Regions from separate parts of the Homo sapiens genome. Here regions 1, 2 and 3 are each linked to region 4. The links are contacts of gene promoters, found by promoter capture Hi-C in human tissues and cell types (Jung and others, 2019). All regions are on one chromosome and are shown on one strand. Each heading gives the region's core, a stretch centred on a gene start or on the middle of the fragment in contact. The rest is flanking DNA. Distances are from core to core; before and after follow the strand shown.

Evidence for each region. Contacts are between HindIII fragments. The study calls those that stand out against the background at their distance.
Region 1: a fragment that was not itself captured here is called in contact with the fragment with the promoter of SREBF2 in region 4 in 2 of the 25 tissues and cell types used here (hippocampus and lymphoblastoid cells).
Region 2: a fragment that was not itself captured here is called in contact with the fragment with the promoter of SREBF2 in region 4 in 1 of the 25 tissues and cell types used here (mesenchymal stem cells).
Region 3: a contact is called between a fragment that was not itself captured here and the fragment with the promoter of SREBF2 in region 4, in 1 of the 25 tissues and cell types used here (dorsolateral prefrontal cortex).

Annotation. Positions count from the first base shown.
Region 1 is chr22:41,658,708-41,661,978 of GRCh38, forward strand. XRCC6 (X-ray repair cross complementing 6) reads left to right here. Exons shown (of 13, transcript NM_001469.5): 12 at 2,624-2,737. Among named protein-coding and RNA genes, the nearest start is that of SNU13, 29 kb to the right of the region's middle. The HindIII fragment of the contact is 4,770 bases long and covers 1-3,271 here.
Region 2 is chr22:41,606,717-41,609,811 of GRCh38, forward strand. It overlaps DESI1 (desumoylating isopeptidase 1), which reads right to left. Exons shown (of 6, transcript NM_015704.3): 2 at 1,124-1,145; 3 at 546-615. Among named protein-coding and RNA genes, the nearest start is that of DESI1, 13 kb to the right of the region's middle. The HindIII fragment of the contact is 5,368 bases long and covers 1-3,095 here.
Region 3 is chr22:42,038,524-42,041,680 of GRCh38, forward strand. It overlaps a transcript of WBP2NL not described here. Among named protein-coding and RNA genes, the nearest start is that of NAGA, 31 kb to the right of the region's middle. The HindIII fragment of the contact is 5,011 bases long and covers 1-3,157 here.
Region 4 is chr22:41,831,261-41,834,581 of GRCh38, forward strand. SREBF2 (sterol regulatory element binding transcription factor 2) reads left to right here and starts at 1,845. Exons shown (of 19, transcript NM_004599.4): 1 at 1,845-2,098. The coding sequence starts at 2,011. CCDC134 (coiled-coil domain containing 134) reads left to right here. Exons shown (of 7, transcript NM_024821.5): 7 at 1-904. It overlaps SREBF2-AS1 (SREBF2 antisense RNA 1), which reads right to left. Exons shown (of 2, transcript NR_157279.2): 1 at 3,183-3,321; 2 at 1-2,720. RefSeq lists enhancers at 1-372, 1,199-1,708, 1,314-1,970 and silencers at 1,749-2,088, 2,149-2,538. The HindIII fragment of the contact is 7,421 bases long and covers 1-3,041 here.

The sequences.
Region 1 (3,271 bases), core at 180-2,679, 170 kb before region 4:
GATTGAGACCATCCTGGCCAACATGTCTCTACTCTGTCTCTACTAAACTCTGTCTCTACTAAAAATACAAAAAATTAGCTGGGTGTGGTGGCGTGTGCCTGTAGTCCCAGCTACTCGGGAGGCTGAGGCAGGAAGATCGGTTGAACTCAGGAGGCAGAGGCTGCAATGAGCCGAGATTGCACCACTGCACTCCAGCCTGGTGACAGAGCGAGACGCTGTCTCAAAAAACAAAACAAAAACAAAAAATCAATAAATAATTTAAGAGGAAATAAGTGGTGGATTTGGGTTTAGAATCCAGCGACTCGCAGCCGGGCGTAGTGGCTTACGTCTGCCTCCTAGGTTCAAGCTATTCTCGTGTCTCAGACTCCCGAGCAGTTGGTCCCCGCCCGGCTAATTTTTGTATTTTTAGTAGAGACGGGATTTCGCCATGATGGCCCGGCTGGTCTCAGAATGATCTATTTTAGACAAAATAGCCCCAGTGTTAAAAGCAGAAGAGTTATTGGACCATTGTTACTGTGGTGCCTGCTTAGCTGTGTCTGGCGAAAGAGAAACGTTTTGAGCTAAACAGCCCATCTCCTCCTTTCAGGCCTTAGGCAAATTCAGAAGTCGGTGGCCTAGTGCCTAGCAAGGTAGTTTAGGACACAGGTGCCTGCCACCAAGCCCGGTTAATTTTTTTGTATTTTTAGTAGAGACGGGGTTTCACTGGGTTAGGATGGTCTCGATCTCCTGACCTTGTGATCCGCCCGCCTTGGCCTCCCAAAGTGCTGGGATTACAAGCAGGAGGCGCTGCGCACGGCCTATTTTGTGTTTTTATTAGTGATTGGGTTTCACCATGTTGGCCAGGCTGGTGTCAAATTCCTGACCTCAAGTGATCCACCTGTCTCGGCCTCCCAAAGTTCTGGGATTATAGGCATAAGCCACCATGCTCACTACTTTTATTTTTATTTTTAGTACTGAGCATAGGCTGGACCTCAGTACATTCATTCATTCATTTGAGACAGGTTCTCACTCTTGTCACCCAGACTGAAGTGCAGTGGTGGGATCTCGGCTCACTGAAACCTTTGGCTCCCAGGCTCAAGCAGTTCTCCTGCCTCAGCCTTCCGAGTAGCTGGGATTACAGGCACCCGCCACCATGCCTGGCTGATTTTTGTATTTTTTGGTAGAGATGGGGGTTCACCATATTGGCCAGGCTCATCTTGAACTCCTGACCTTAGGTGATCCACCCGCCTCGGCCTCCCAAAGTGCTGGGATTACAGGCAAGAGCCACTGCACCCAGCTTCTCTGTACTTTTAAAACTCTACAGATGATTCCCAGATTGGGAGCCAGTGCTCTTGCAGAGGTTCCCATGATGTGGACCAGGGGACTTCTGATGCAGCAGGAGCACAGTTTGGCTCCAGCATTGTGCCATCTAGGTACACCAGCAAGAGCTCCCCTCCATGCTTGGCAAATACGGGCATGTGAGCTGCCCATCTCATCACCCTTGCCCTTGATGTGACACAGCTCATGTCAGAAGCTTGATTTAACAATATAGTTGTAAGCTAACAAAAAAGGAAACAAAAGTATGATCTTTCCTCCAAAGTTGCCTTTTCCTGTCATACTTGCTCCCCCTGTTTCAGCCAGTCATCTCCCCATCCCACTCCTATTCTTCTTACATTCTGGTTTCCAGCTCTGTGATTTCAGTTAAATAATAAATCCTATTCTATCAGTAAGTCCTGCCAGTTCTGTCACTTCTCATGTTTATGGGTCCTCCCACCCACACCCCACTTCACCTGTCTTATCTTACCCTCTTTCAGTTCACCCTCCATGCAGCTATCAGGGGATTCTTTGGATAAGGCCTAATTCCTTGGCAGGCATCCCAGCTTCCATGACCTCATCATACCCATCTTTCTCACCTCTCTGCTGGCCCTGTCCTCCTTAACACCCTACCTTCCAGCTATATGTCACCTGCTATTTCTCTCCCAGTGCCTTCTGCTTCTTATCTTTCACCACCCCTCCTGTGTTCCAGTGTGCCTGTACAGTCGCTTCTTGCATGGTGTTGCCCAACTCCACTGCATCGTTTTTATCCACCTCCTCTCTCTCACTGGGCTGTAAGCTCACCGCAGGCATGAGCACTTGTTTGAATTCCCAGAATCTAGCTTAGTATCTCCACTGTACCACTGCCCTTTGGGAAAGTCATGTAATCTCTCTCCTTTTCTCCTCTGTAAAACTGGGGACAAATCAAGAGGCTGAGGCAGGAGAATCGCTTGAACCAGGGAGTCGGAGGTTGCAGTGAGCCAAGATCGCGCCACTGCACTCCAGCCTGGCAACAGAGCAAGACTCCATCTCAAAAAAAAATCTAAAAAAAAAAAAACTGGGGACAAATTTACCTATCCTATAGGTTGTTAGAAGGAGTAAATAGAGTAAGTTTAAAGCATTTACAACAGTGCCTGGCGGTAGTATGTGTAATTACAGTAAATGCAGGTGTTGGAAGGTACTTGGTAAATGCTGGAAAGACATTTCCCTAGACCCCTCCCACCTTAGCAGTTAGGTGCTCTCTCTTCTGGTTCTCAGAGAGTTCTGGAAGTGGACAGCAAGCTGGGGCTCGTGACTCACCAGGCCACTCTTCTGTGTTTTGATTTTCTAGTGCCCAAGGTTGAAGCAATGAATAAAAGACTGGGCTCCTTGGTGGATGAGTTTAAGGAGCTTGTTTACCCACCAGATTACAATCCTGAAGGGAAAGTTACCAAGAGAAAACACGGTGAGAAGCTGAATGTGGACATGTGGGCTATTTTTAAAAATTGCTTTTATGATAGTCTTATCACAGTGGGCAATATCCTTTCAGAAATATCTATTCACAGTCTAGTTAAAATGGCTTTTATCCAAAAAACAGACAATAACAAATGCTGGCAAAGATGTGGAGAAAAGGGAACCCTCATACACTGTTGGTGGGAATGTAAATTAGTACAGCCACTATTATGGAGAATAGTTGGGAGTTTCCTCAAAAAGTGAAAACTAGAGCTACCATATGATCCAGCATACCATATGATCCAGTCAGTATATACCCAAAAGAAAGGAGATCAATATATCAAAGAGATATGTGCACTCCCATGTTTATTGCAGCACCATTCACAATAGCCAAGATCTGGAAGCAACTTGTGTCCATCAACAGATGCCTGGTAAAGAAAATGTGGTACACGTACACAATGGAGTACTATTCGGCCATAAAAAAGAATGAGATCCTGTCATTTGCAATAATATGTTAAGTGAAGTAAGCCAGGCTCAGAAAGACAGA
Region 2 (3,095 bases), core at 4-2,503, 230 kb before region 4:
TGAGCCGAGATCGCACCACTGCACTTCAGTCTGGGCGACGGAGCGAGACTCCATCTCAAAAAAAAAAAAAAAAAAAAAAAAAAAAGAAATTTTCGGAAAAGGGTGTGGGCTTTAGTGTGATAATCCTGGGTTCTAGGACTGGTGTCCCTTATTGGCTGTTTAAGTTTGGGCAAGTCTTGATGCTTCTCAGAGCCCTCATCATTCAGCTTAACATCAGTTGCGTTCCTAGGATGAGCCGGACACTGTGCAGGGGATGGAGATGGAAGGTCTCAGCTCGCAAGGAGCTTACACAGTTCCCTGTGGAGAACCAGAAACAGCTCATTTCACCATAACATGCTCTCTGTGAGACAGAAGGACCCACACGTGCCATGGGAACAGAGAGGAGAGGAACTGGCTGGGGTGTCTGGGAAAGGTTTTATTGAGCCAAGTCTTCAGGTGGCTTTGAGGAACAATGCCAGAAGTCCATAGTAGAAGCAAAGCTCCTGGTCTACAGGAGCCCCCAGGAACCTGAGACTGCAGGACAGAGTGTAGGGGAAGACACTCACCGGGGGGCAGCTGGAGATACCACCACTGCCGAAGAAGAACTCATCCTTGTGCACAACTATGGATGTGTGCCTGTCACACAGAGAGAGACACAGTAAGCCAGAAAACTTAAACTTTTGAGAAAAAGCAAACACCATAATGCAATGAGAGTAATTTCTGCCCAAGGATAGGACTGTGGGGACCAGTCTTATAAAACCAACAAACCAAAGGTATGAATATGATAAATACCACAGATCAGGGCTTCTCAATCTTGGCACTATTGACATTTGAGGCTGGATACTTCTTTGTTGTGTGGGGCTGTCCTGTGCATTCTAGTCTGTTGAGCAGCGTCCCTGCCTCTATCCACAAGATGCCAGTAGCATCCTCCTCCCTGTATGACAACCAAAAATATCTCTGGACATGGCCAAATGTCCCAGGGTGAGAGAGCAAAAGAACTGATGAGAAGCACTGCTTTAGGGCTTGAAGATTTATAGCATGGAGAGCTAGGTTTCATGCTGGAAGCCACAGACTAGAACCTGAAATGCATAGAGTGCTGCCTTGTTTCAAAACTAGTCAAAGTAAGGAGACCCACCCAACTTACCAGATGCCTTCCAGTTGTTTCCCTGTGGAGAGAAGAAGAGATTTAGCCACTTGGGACTAGAATAAGTGGCCCCTCAGCCTTGGTAAATTCATGACATCACTCAAACCCAGGGTAACCTGTCATAAACCTCTTGAGGGACTTTCTAGGAATGCAAGTCCCCTCCAGTAAGGTCTTTAGGTTGTGACAGAGTGTAAGTAAGTTGAAAAGTAATGAGAGTCTTTTATCAGAATGCAAGATTAAAAACACTAGTATAAAGGTACCCCAGTTTTATGTCTGCTATTCTTTCCTCTTTGGGGTCAATTCAGCTATGCCTTTTTAACTTCTCTGTCTCACGTACAGTAAGACTATAGTAATACAATGAATGTTATTACTCATTTCTTCATTGAGGTGAAATCCTTCAGAAACTGATAGGATAAAACTTTGCAAATGCTATCCATTTAAATAGTTAAAGCACGTTATTCTACCTCTATGTGCCAGAAACAATGTTAGGTGTGGAAATGCAAACAGGAACGTATCACTTTCCTGCCCTTGAGAAGCTCAAAGTCAAATGGACTGAGACACACAAATAATTAACTAAAACACAATGTTAATATGCTGTATCATAGTGGTAAAAATAAGGTACTAAATATAATAAACTACTTTTGTGAGCTTCCATTACCAATGACAAGTAAGGGCAGGGATGGACATTTCTGTGGGAGAGAACAAGATGTGCACATGCATGGCTGTGAAGTCTAAAGCCTGCAGGGCAGAGTGAAGGGGGCAGTGATGGTGCCAAGGGGAGGAGCGGCCAACAGGATGGCCAGCAAAGCGGGCAGGCCTGGACTCAAAGAGGCTGTGAGGCTGGAGAGTGCCTTGATCAGATCCATGTTCGGAAAAGATAACTGTAGTTGTGGGATAGCAGATGAATTGGAGGGAAGAGAGCAGACCAAGCAGACCATCACAAGAGTCCATGAGAGATACTCTACAGCAGTGCTCAGGAGGCAGAGGAAGGGCATTGAAAGACGTGGAGTGTCAGCAAACATCACCCACTCACTCCTGCTTATCACTTCACACGGCGACATGGCAGATTACTGATTGCTAACTGCTACCTTCGCTGTTTGCCCTGTGCCTTTCTTTTTTTTAGAGGCAGAGTCTCTCTGTTGCCCAGGCTGGAGTGAAGTGACGTGATCTCGGCTCATTGCAACCTCTGCCCCCCGGGTTCAAGTGATTCTCATGCCTCAGCCTCCCAAGTAGCTGGGATTACAGGCATGCACCACCAAGCCCGGCTGATTTTTGTATTTTTAGTAGAGACAGGATTTTGCCATGTCGGCCAGGCTGGTCTCGAACTCCTCGCCTCAAGTGATCCACCTGCCTCAGCCTCCCAAAGTGCTAGGATTACAGGCATGAGCCACCACACACTTGGCATAGCATCCTCAGAGATAGTTAAGGGGACCATATGGGTTCAGATCCTGGATTTTCCACTTCCTAGTGGTGGATCTTGGGCAAGTTTACCCAGCCTGTTTAAGTCTGTTTCTCCAGTTCAGAGTTGCTGTGACTGGTAATGTTAATGTATAGAAAGCTTCACAGTATGTGATATACAGATGTCTGATAAATGGAGGCTCTTATTAGGTACAATGACCTCCTTGGGGAAAAGGGTAAAGACTTCCAGAAGATAAAAATAAATTCTACTTCAGACATGTCACAGTGGCCCACCCCTGTAATCCCAGCACTTTGGGAGGCCGAGGCAGGCAGATTACTTGAAGCCAGGAGTTCAAGACCAGCCTGGCCAACAGAGAAACCCAGTCTTTACTAAAAATAAAAATAAAAAAACTCTCTGGGTGTGGTGGCATGCACCTGTAGTCCCAGCTACTCAGGAGGCTGAGGCACGAGAATTGCTTGAACTTGGGAGGCAGTGAGCCGAGATTGCGCCACTGTACTCTAGCCTGGGCAACAGAGTGAGACCCTGTCTCAAATAAAACAAAAAATAGGCCAG
Region 3 (3,157 bases), core at 229-2,728, 210 kb after region 4:
AGTTTAAGAAGGCCTAGTGTTCTTTGAATATTTGGTAGAATTAGCATATGAAACCATCCGGTCTTGGGCATTTCTTTGTTGGATTTTTTTTTTGTTTGAGACCAAGTCTCGCTCTGTTGCCCAGATTGGAGTGCAGTGGTGTGATCTTGGCTCACTGCAAGCTCCGTCTCCCGGGTTCACGCCATTCTCCTGCCTCAGCCTCCCGAGTAGCTGGGACTACAGGCACCTGCCATCACGCCCAGCTAATTTTTTGTACTTTTAGTAGAGACGGGGTTTCACCGTGTTAGCCAGGATGGTCTCGATCTCCTGACCTCAGGTGATACACCCACCTCGGCCTCCCAAAGTGCTGGGATTACAGGCGTGAGCCACTGCGTCCAGCTGGATTTTTTTTTTCTTTTTCGAGATAGGGTCTTACTCTGTTGCCTAGGCTGCAGTGCAGTGGTATGATCATTGCTCACTGCAGCCTCAATCTCCTGGGCTCAGGTGATCCTCCTGCCTCAGCCTCTCTTACGTAGCTGGGACTACAGGTGCACACCACCATTCCTGGCTAATTTTTTTTTTTTTTTGAGACAGAGTCTCACCCCGTTGCCCAGGGTGGAGTGCAGTGGCACTGTGTCGGCTCACTGCAATTTCCGTCTCCTGGGTTCAAGCAATTCTCTTGCCTCCATCTCCCAAGTAGCTGGGATTACAGGCGCCCACCACCATGCCTGGCTAATTCTTGTATTTTTTTTTAGTAGAGACAGGGTTTCACCATGTTGGACAGGCTGGTGTCGAACTCCTGACCTCAGGTGATCCACTCGCCTTGGCCTCCCAAAGTGCTGGGATTACAGGCTTTTTTTTTTTTTTTCCAGTATCAGTGAGGTCTTCCTGTGTTGCCTAGGCTGGTCTCAAACTCTAGAGCCCAAGCAATCCTCCTGGCTCAGCGTTCCAAAGTACTGTGATCATAGGTGTGAGCCACTACGCTCAGCCTGGAATGTTTTTGATTACTGATTCAACTCCTTGTTTGTTATTGGTCTGCTCAGACTTTCTGTTTCTTCTTGATTCGGTCTTGGTAGTGTGTGTGTTACTAAGGATTTATCCATTTCTTCTAGGTTATTCCATTTATTGGCATATAGGTTGTCATAATAGTCCCTTATGATCCTTTTTATTTCTGTGTCATCCATTGTAATGTCTCCTCTCTTATTTATGATTTTATTTATTTGAATCTTCTTTTTTAATCTAGCTAAAGGCTTGATGATTTTGTTGATCTTTTTAAAAAGCCAACTTAGTTTTTTCTATTCTCTATTTTGTTTATTTCTGCTCTAATTTTTCTTATTTCTGTCCTTCTGCTAACTTTGGGTCGAGTTTGTTCCTCTTTTTCTAGTTTCTTGATTTGTACAGTTAGGTTTTTTTTTTTTTTTTCCTCGAGATGAAGTCTTGTTTTGTTACCCAGAGCTGGAGTGCAGTGGCTCAACCTCAGCTCACTGCAACCTCCGCCTCCTGGGTTCAAGCGATTCTCCTGCCTCAGCCTCCAGAGTAGCTGGGACTACAGGCAGGCACCACCATACCCGGCTAATTTTTTGTATTTTTAGTAGACATGGGGTTTCACTATGTTGGACAGGCTGGTTTCGAACTCTTGACTTCAAGTGATCCACCCGCCTTGGCCTCCCACCATGCCTTGGCCAATGTTAGGTTCTTTAATTGAGATCTATCTTCTCTCTCTCTCTTTTTTTTTTTTTAGACAGAGTCTTGCTCTGTTGCCTAGGCTGGAGTGCAATGGTGCGATCTCAGCTCACTGCAACCTCCGCCTCCTGGGTTCAAGTAATTCTCCTGCCTCAGCCTCCTGAGTAGCTGGGATTATAGTTGCCTGCCACCACGCCTGGCTAATTTTTTGTATTTTAGTAGAGACGAGGTTTCACCATGTTCGCCAGGCTAGTCTTGAACTCCTGACCTCAAGTGATCTGCCTGCCTCGGCCTCCCAAAGTGCTGGGATAACAGGTGTGTGAGCCACCTCGCCTGACCGAGATCTTTCTTCTTTTTAAACATAGGTGTTTAATGCTATACATTTCCCTTATGGAACTGCTTTTGCTGATTCCTGTAAATTTTAGAAAGTTAGAATTTTATTTTTGTCTCAAGATATTTTAAAATTCTCTCTGGATTTCCTCTTTTATCCAGTTGTTCAAGAGTGTATTGTTTTTATGAATTTGTGAATTTTTCTATTTTCTTTATGTTACCGATTTCTAGTTCTTTCCACTGTGGCCTAAGAAGATACCAGGTATTATTTCAATCTTCTTAAATTTGTTAAAACTTGTTTTGTGACTTAAGATGTGACCTATCCTGGAATATGTTCCATGTATACTTGAGATGAAATTGTATTCTGCTGCTGTTGGCTAAAACGTTCTGTATGTTAGGTCCATTTGGTGTATAGTGTTATTCAAATCAGTTGTTTTTTTATTGGTTGTCTGCCTGAATGTGCTATCCATTATTAAAAGTGGAATATTGAATTCTCCTACTATTAAATTGTTTTTAACCTCTTTCTTCATATCTGTCCATATTTGATTTATATATTTAAGTGCTCTGATGTTCAGTACATACATGTTTATAATTGTTATAGCTTCCTGTTGAATTGAAACTTTTATCATTATATGACTTTCTTTGTCCCTAGTAACAGTTTTGGACTTAAAAGTCTGTTTTGGCTGGGCACAGTGGCACACGCCTGTAATCCCAGCACTTTGGGAGGGGAGGCTGAGACAGGCAGATCACGAGGTCAAGAGAGCGAGACCATCCTGGCCAACATGGTGAAACCCCATCTCTACTAAAAATATATAAATTAGCTGGGCGTGGTGGCACACACCTGTAGTCCCAGCTACTCGGGGGGCTGAGGCAGGAGAATCACTTGAACCCAGGAGGCGGAGGTTACAGTGAGCCGAGATCATGCCACTGCACTCTAGCCTGGCAACAGGGCGAGGTTCTGTCTTTAAAAAAAAAAAAAAAAAAAAAAAGTCTGTTTTGTCTGATAAAAGTATAGCCACTTTTGCTCTCTTTTGGTTACCATTTGCATGGAGTATCTTTTTCTATCCCTTCACCTTTAGTCTGAGTGTCCTTATAGCTAAAGTAAGCCTTTAGCTTACTTCTTTTTATATTGTGACTCTATTACCAAATTTTTTTGGTTATAGTT
Region 4 (3,321 bases), core at 595-3,094:
ATCTCAGCTCACTGCAGCCTCTATCTCCCAGGTTCCGGCAGTTCTCCTACCGGTTAGCTGGGATTACAGGCATGCGCCACCACACCCGGCTAATTTTTGTATTTTTAGTAGAGACGGGGTTTCACCATGTTGGTCAGGCTGGTCTCCAACTCCTGACCTCAAATGATCTGCACACCTCGGCCTCCTAAAGTGCTGGAATTACCGGTGTGAGCCACCGCGCCTGGCCAGATCCTTATTTTTTCAATTGCAATACAGCAGTATGCAAGGCACTTACTGTATGCCAAAGCTTATGCCGAGAGCTGGCTGCCAGCAGCTCCTCCTGCCTCGAGGCCTTTGTCCATGTCATCATTTCCCCTTTGGCTGTAACAGCTGCAGTTCTCTCATAATTTTAGGTTTCATCTTAAATGTCACTTCTTCAGAGGCTTCTTGACAGCACAAGTCAGGGCCCTTGTTAGTTTCATCACATCCATTACCTTTCCTTGATCACTTGTACCATCATCTGTAATTTATTTTTATGTTTAATACGGGTGTGGGATTTCTGATTTTTTTTTTTGCTAGACTGGAAGCTCTCAGAGGGCAGGAACCATTTGTTTCCCTGCCACAGAGATGTTCAATAAATATTGTCAATTGAATGTGCAAATAATCTCACTTAACCACAGCTATGAGGGATGCTATTTTATCCCCATTTTAGAGATGACTAAACTGAGGCTTAGAACAATTAACCCAAGGTCACAGTGAATTAGTGGATCCATGTGTCTGCCTCCACACAGCCTGTGTGTTCTTAATTATTGATCACTAAGCAACAGCTGCCTCTCACAAACTGGCAGGAAACTTCAACTTTTCCCTTTTATCAATATATTGTGAACGCCTTTTCTTGCTAATAAATATACATTTGTGTGCGTAATTTTTAATGATCCCATGGTATTCCATCGTGTGGATGTAATTTACATATTCATTTCCTTATTCTCACTTCTTCCTAGTTACAGCACTTCTTTAAGCACTTGTAATTTTTATTCCTTTGGATAAATTCCTAGAAGTTTACAACACGACCAGCTGCAAGATGGGGCAGTGAGGTGCTTGAAGGAGTGGGTGGGCTGCACTTCAGAATCCCGGTGGAACTTTTTCAAAAAACTCGTGCCCGGGGCCCCCCTCTCAGGAGGCCGTCGGTGGGCCTGGGCACTGGCGTGGTTTTCAGGTCCTCAGTGGTTCCGAGGTGCCAGAGATTGAGGACCACTGGAGTAAGCGCGAGGTCACGGCGGGTGCAAAGCAGAAGACGTAAAATCCTGACCGCCCTGGGACAATCTGCAACCTTGTCAAGCCTCCGTGCCCGCCTTTGTAAGGAGGCTGGGAGAAGCGGGACTTGGATGACCCGGACTCCCGTCCCGAGCGCTGGGGTCCAGGTTTGACTCCGCTGGCTTTCTCAGGCGGGCAGGGCGGGGGTAGGCAGCTGGGAAGATGACGTAATGTGCTCCCAGCCAGGCCTGGAGGCGGCCAGCGGTCGCAGGTGGAGGGTGGCCTGTTAACCCTTCACTCCCAGGCCAGTGGACGGACTTGCGTGTGGCGCAGATCCAACGGAGAAGGCAGCGGCTCCTTTAAACAAGGCGGAGAAGGTTAAGATGATGACCGGACGGCTACTCCAGGCATTCGCTCCGAGGCCGCGGGGGGAGGGACCTCACTATGCAAATCTGAGCTGCTGATCGATGACGCGCCATCACCCCACGCACCGCTTCGCTCGCCCATTGGCTGAGATGAGCCTGGTCCCATTGACAACAAACAGGGGGGCGCGCGGCCTGGAGGCGGGGCCGCAGGGGGCGCGGGCTGGGGCGGGGGAATCCCGCCCCGCCCTTTCTGTGCGGCGCCCGGGCGCAACGCAAACATGGCGGCGGGTGGCACCCGTCGGTGAGGCGGTGCCGGGCGGGGGTTGTCGGGTGTCATGGGCGGTGGCGACGGCACCGCCCCCGCGTCTCCCTGAGCGGGACGGCAGGGGGGGCTTCTGCGCTGAGCCGGGCGATGGACGACAGCGGCGAGCTGGGTGGTCTGGAGACCATGGAGACCCTCACGGAGCTGGGCGACGAGCTGACCCTGGGAGACATCGACGGTGAGTGGTGGGTGGGTGGGAGTGCGGGGGCCGCGCGGGGAGGAAGGGGTTACGGCGGCGCGCCCGGGTGCGCGTGCGCCCACCCCCCGACAGCCCCGGTTCGCGCGGGAAGAACCCCGTGCGCACGGTGCCCCCGGCGGTCCTCAACCCTTCCGGCGCTGCGAGCGTGAGCCCGACCCAGCTGCGCCGCTCCGGGAGGCCGTGGGATCTGGGGCGCCGCGGGGCCGAAAGCGGCGCGAGGGTCGCGGGTTCCAGAGCGCGGGGCTAGGGACGTCGCGGGGGCGTCTCAGGGAGCGGCCTAAGGAGAGCGCGTGGCCGCCGCCTCCCTCGCGCGCCCACACGCGGTTTCCGTGGTCCGCTCTCCCGCCGCCCGCGACCGCGCGTCGCACCTGTCACTCCCTTCCTGGCCGCGGGGACGTCTTTGGGATTCCCGGGGCCCAGCCCCCAGTCTCCGCGCCCCGAATCCCTGGGCTTCTCAGGATTGACCGACGGCCAGGTCGCCGGGTGCTCCGCGAAACTTTGGGCAGCGACTGCAGAAGCAAGTTGCTGATGAAGAGAGCAGTGGCGGCGGAGTGTGGACACATCTCTCCGGGATGGAGACCCGGGCGCTCCTGCTGTCACGCTGCAAGGGGAATTGAGCAGAAGAAATTTTGAGTTGTGGCCCCTCGGGTACGGGCTGGGGAGCGGGTGGCCTTTGTTCCAGCGCCTTAACAGCGGAGTGGAAGAGCTGGTAGGAGCCCAGGGATCCACTCTTAAAATACTAATTTTGCGACCACGGGAACAACGATTTGGAGAGGGTCAGCGGCTTGCTCAAGGTCACCCAGCTGGTTAGAGCCTAGTTCTTGCAGTTCCTTGGCCAGTATTGGTTTTTTTATACCCCTCCTTTCAAGAAAGAGTCCAGTTGACTAGGCTAGTAATCTTATTAACTGGATAGTTGCACTCTTATGTTTAGGCCCCAAAATGCTTTGTATTATTTCACTTCTTCCTCACAACAATCCTGTGAGATACTCTTATTACCTCTATTTTAATACGGTAATTAAAGAAGCCGAGGCCAGGAGATGTTGACTTATCTAAGGCCACTCACCTTAGAGAGCTTAGGCAGAAACACAGGTGCATTGTACTTTTCAGTTTTCAGAATGCTTTCATGTCCAGGATCTCACTACAGCCTTGCAGGCATGTATGATGGCTACATCCCCGTTGTGCAGATGAAGAAGCAGAAGCAG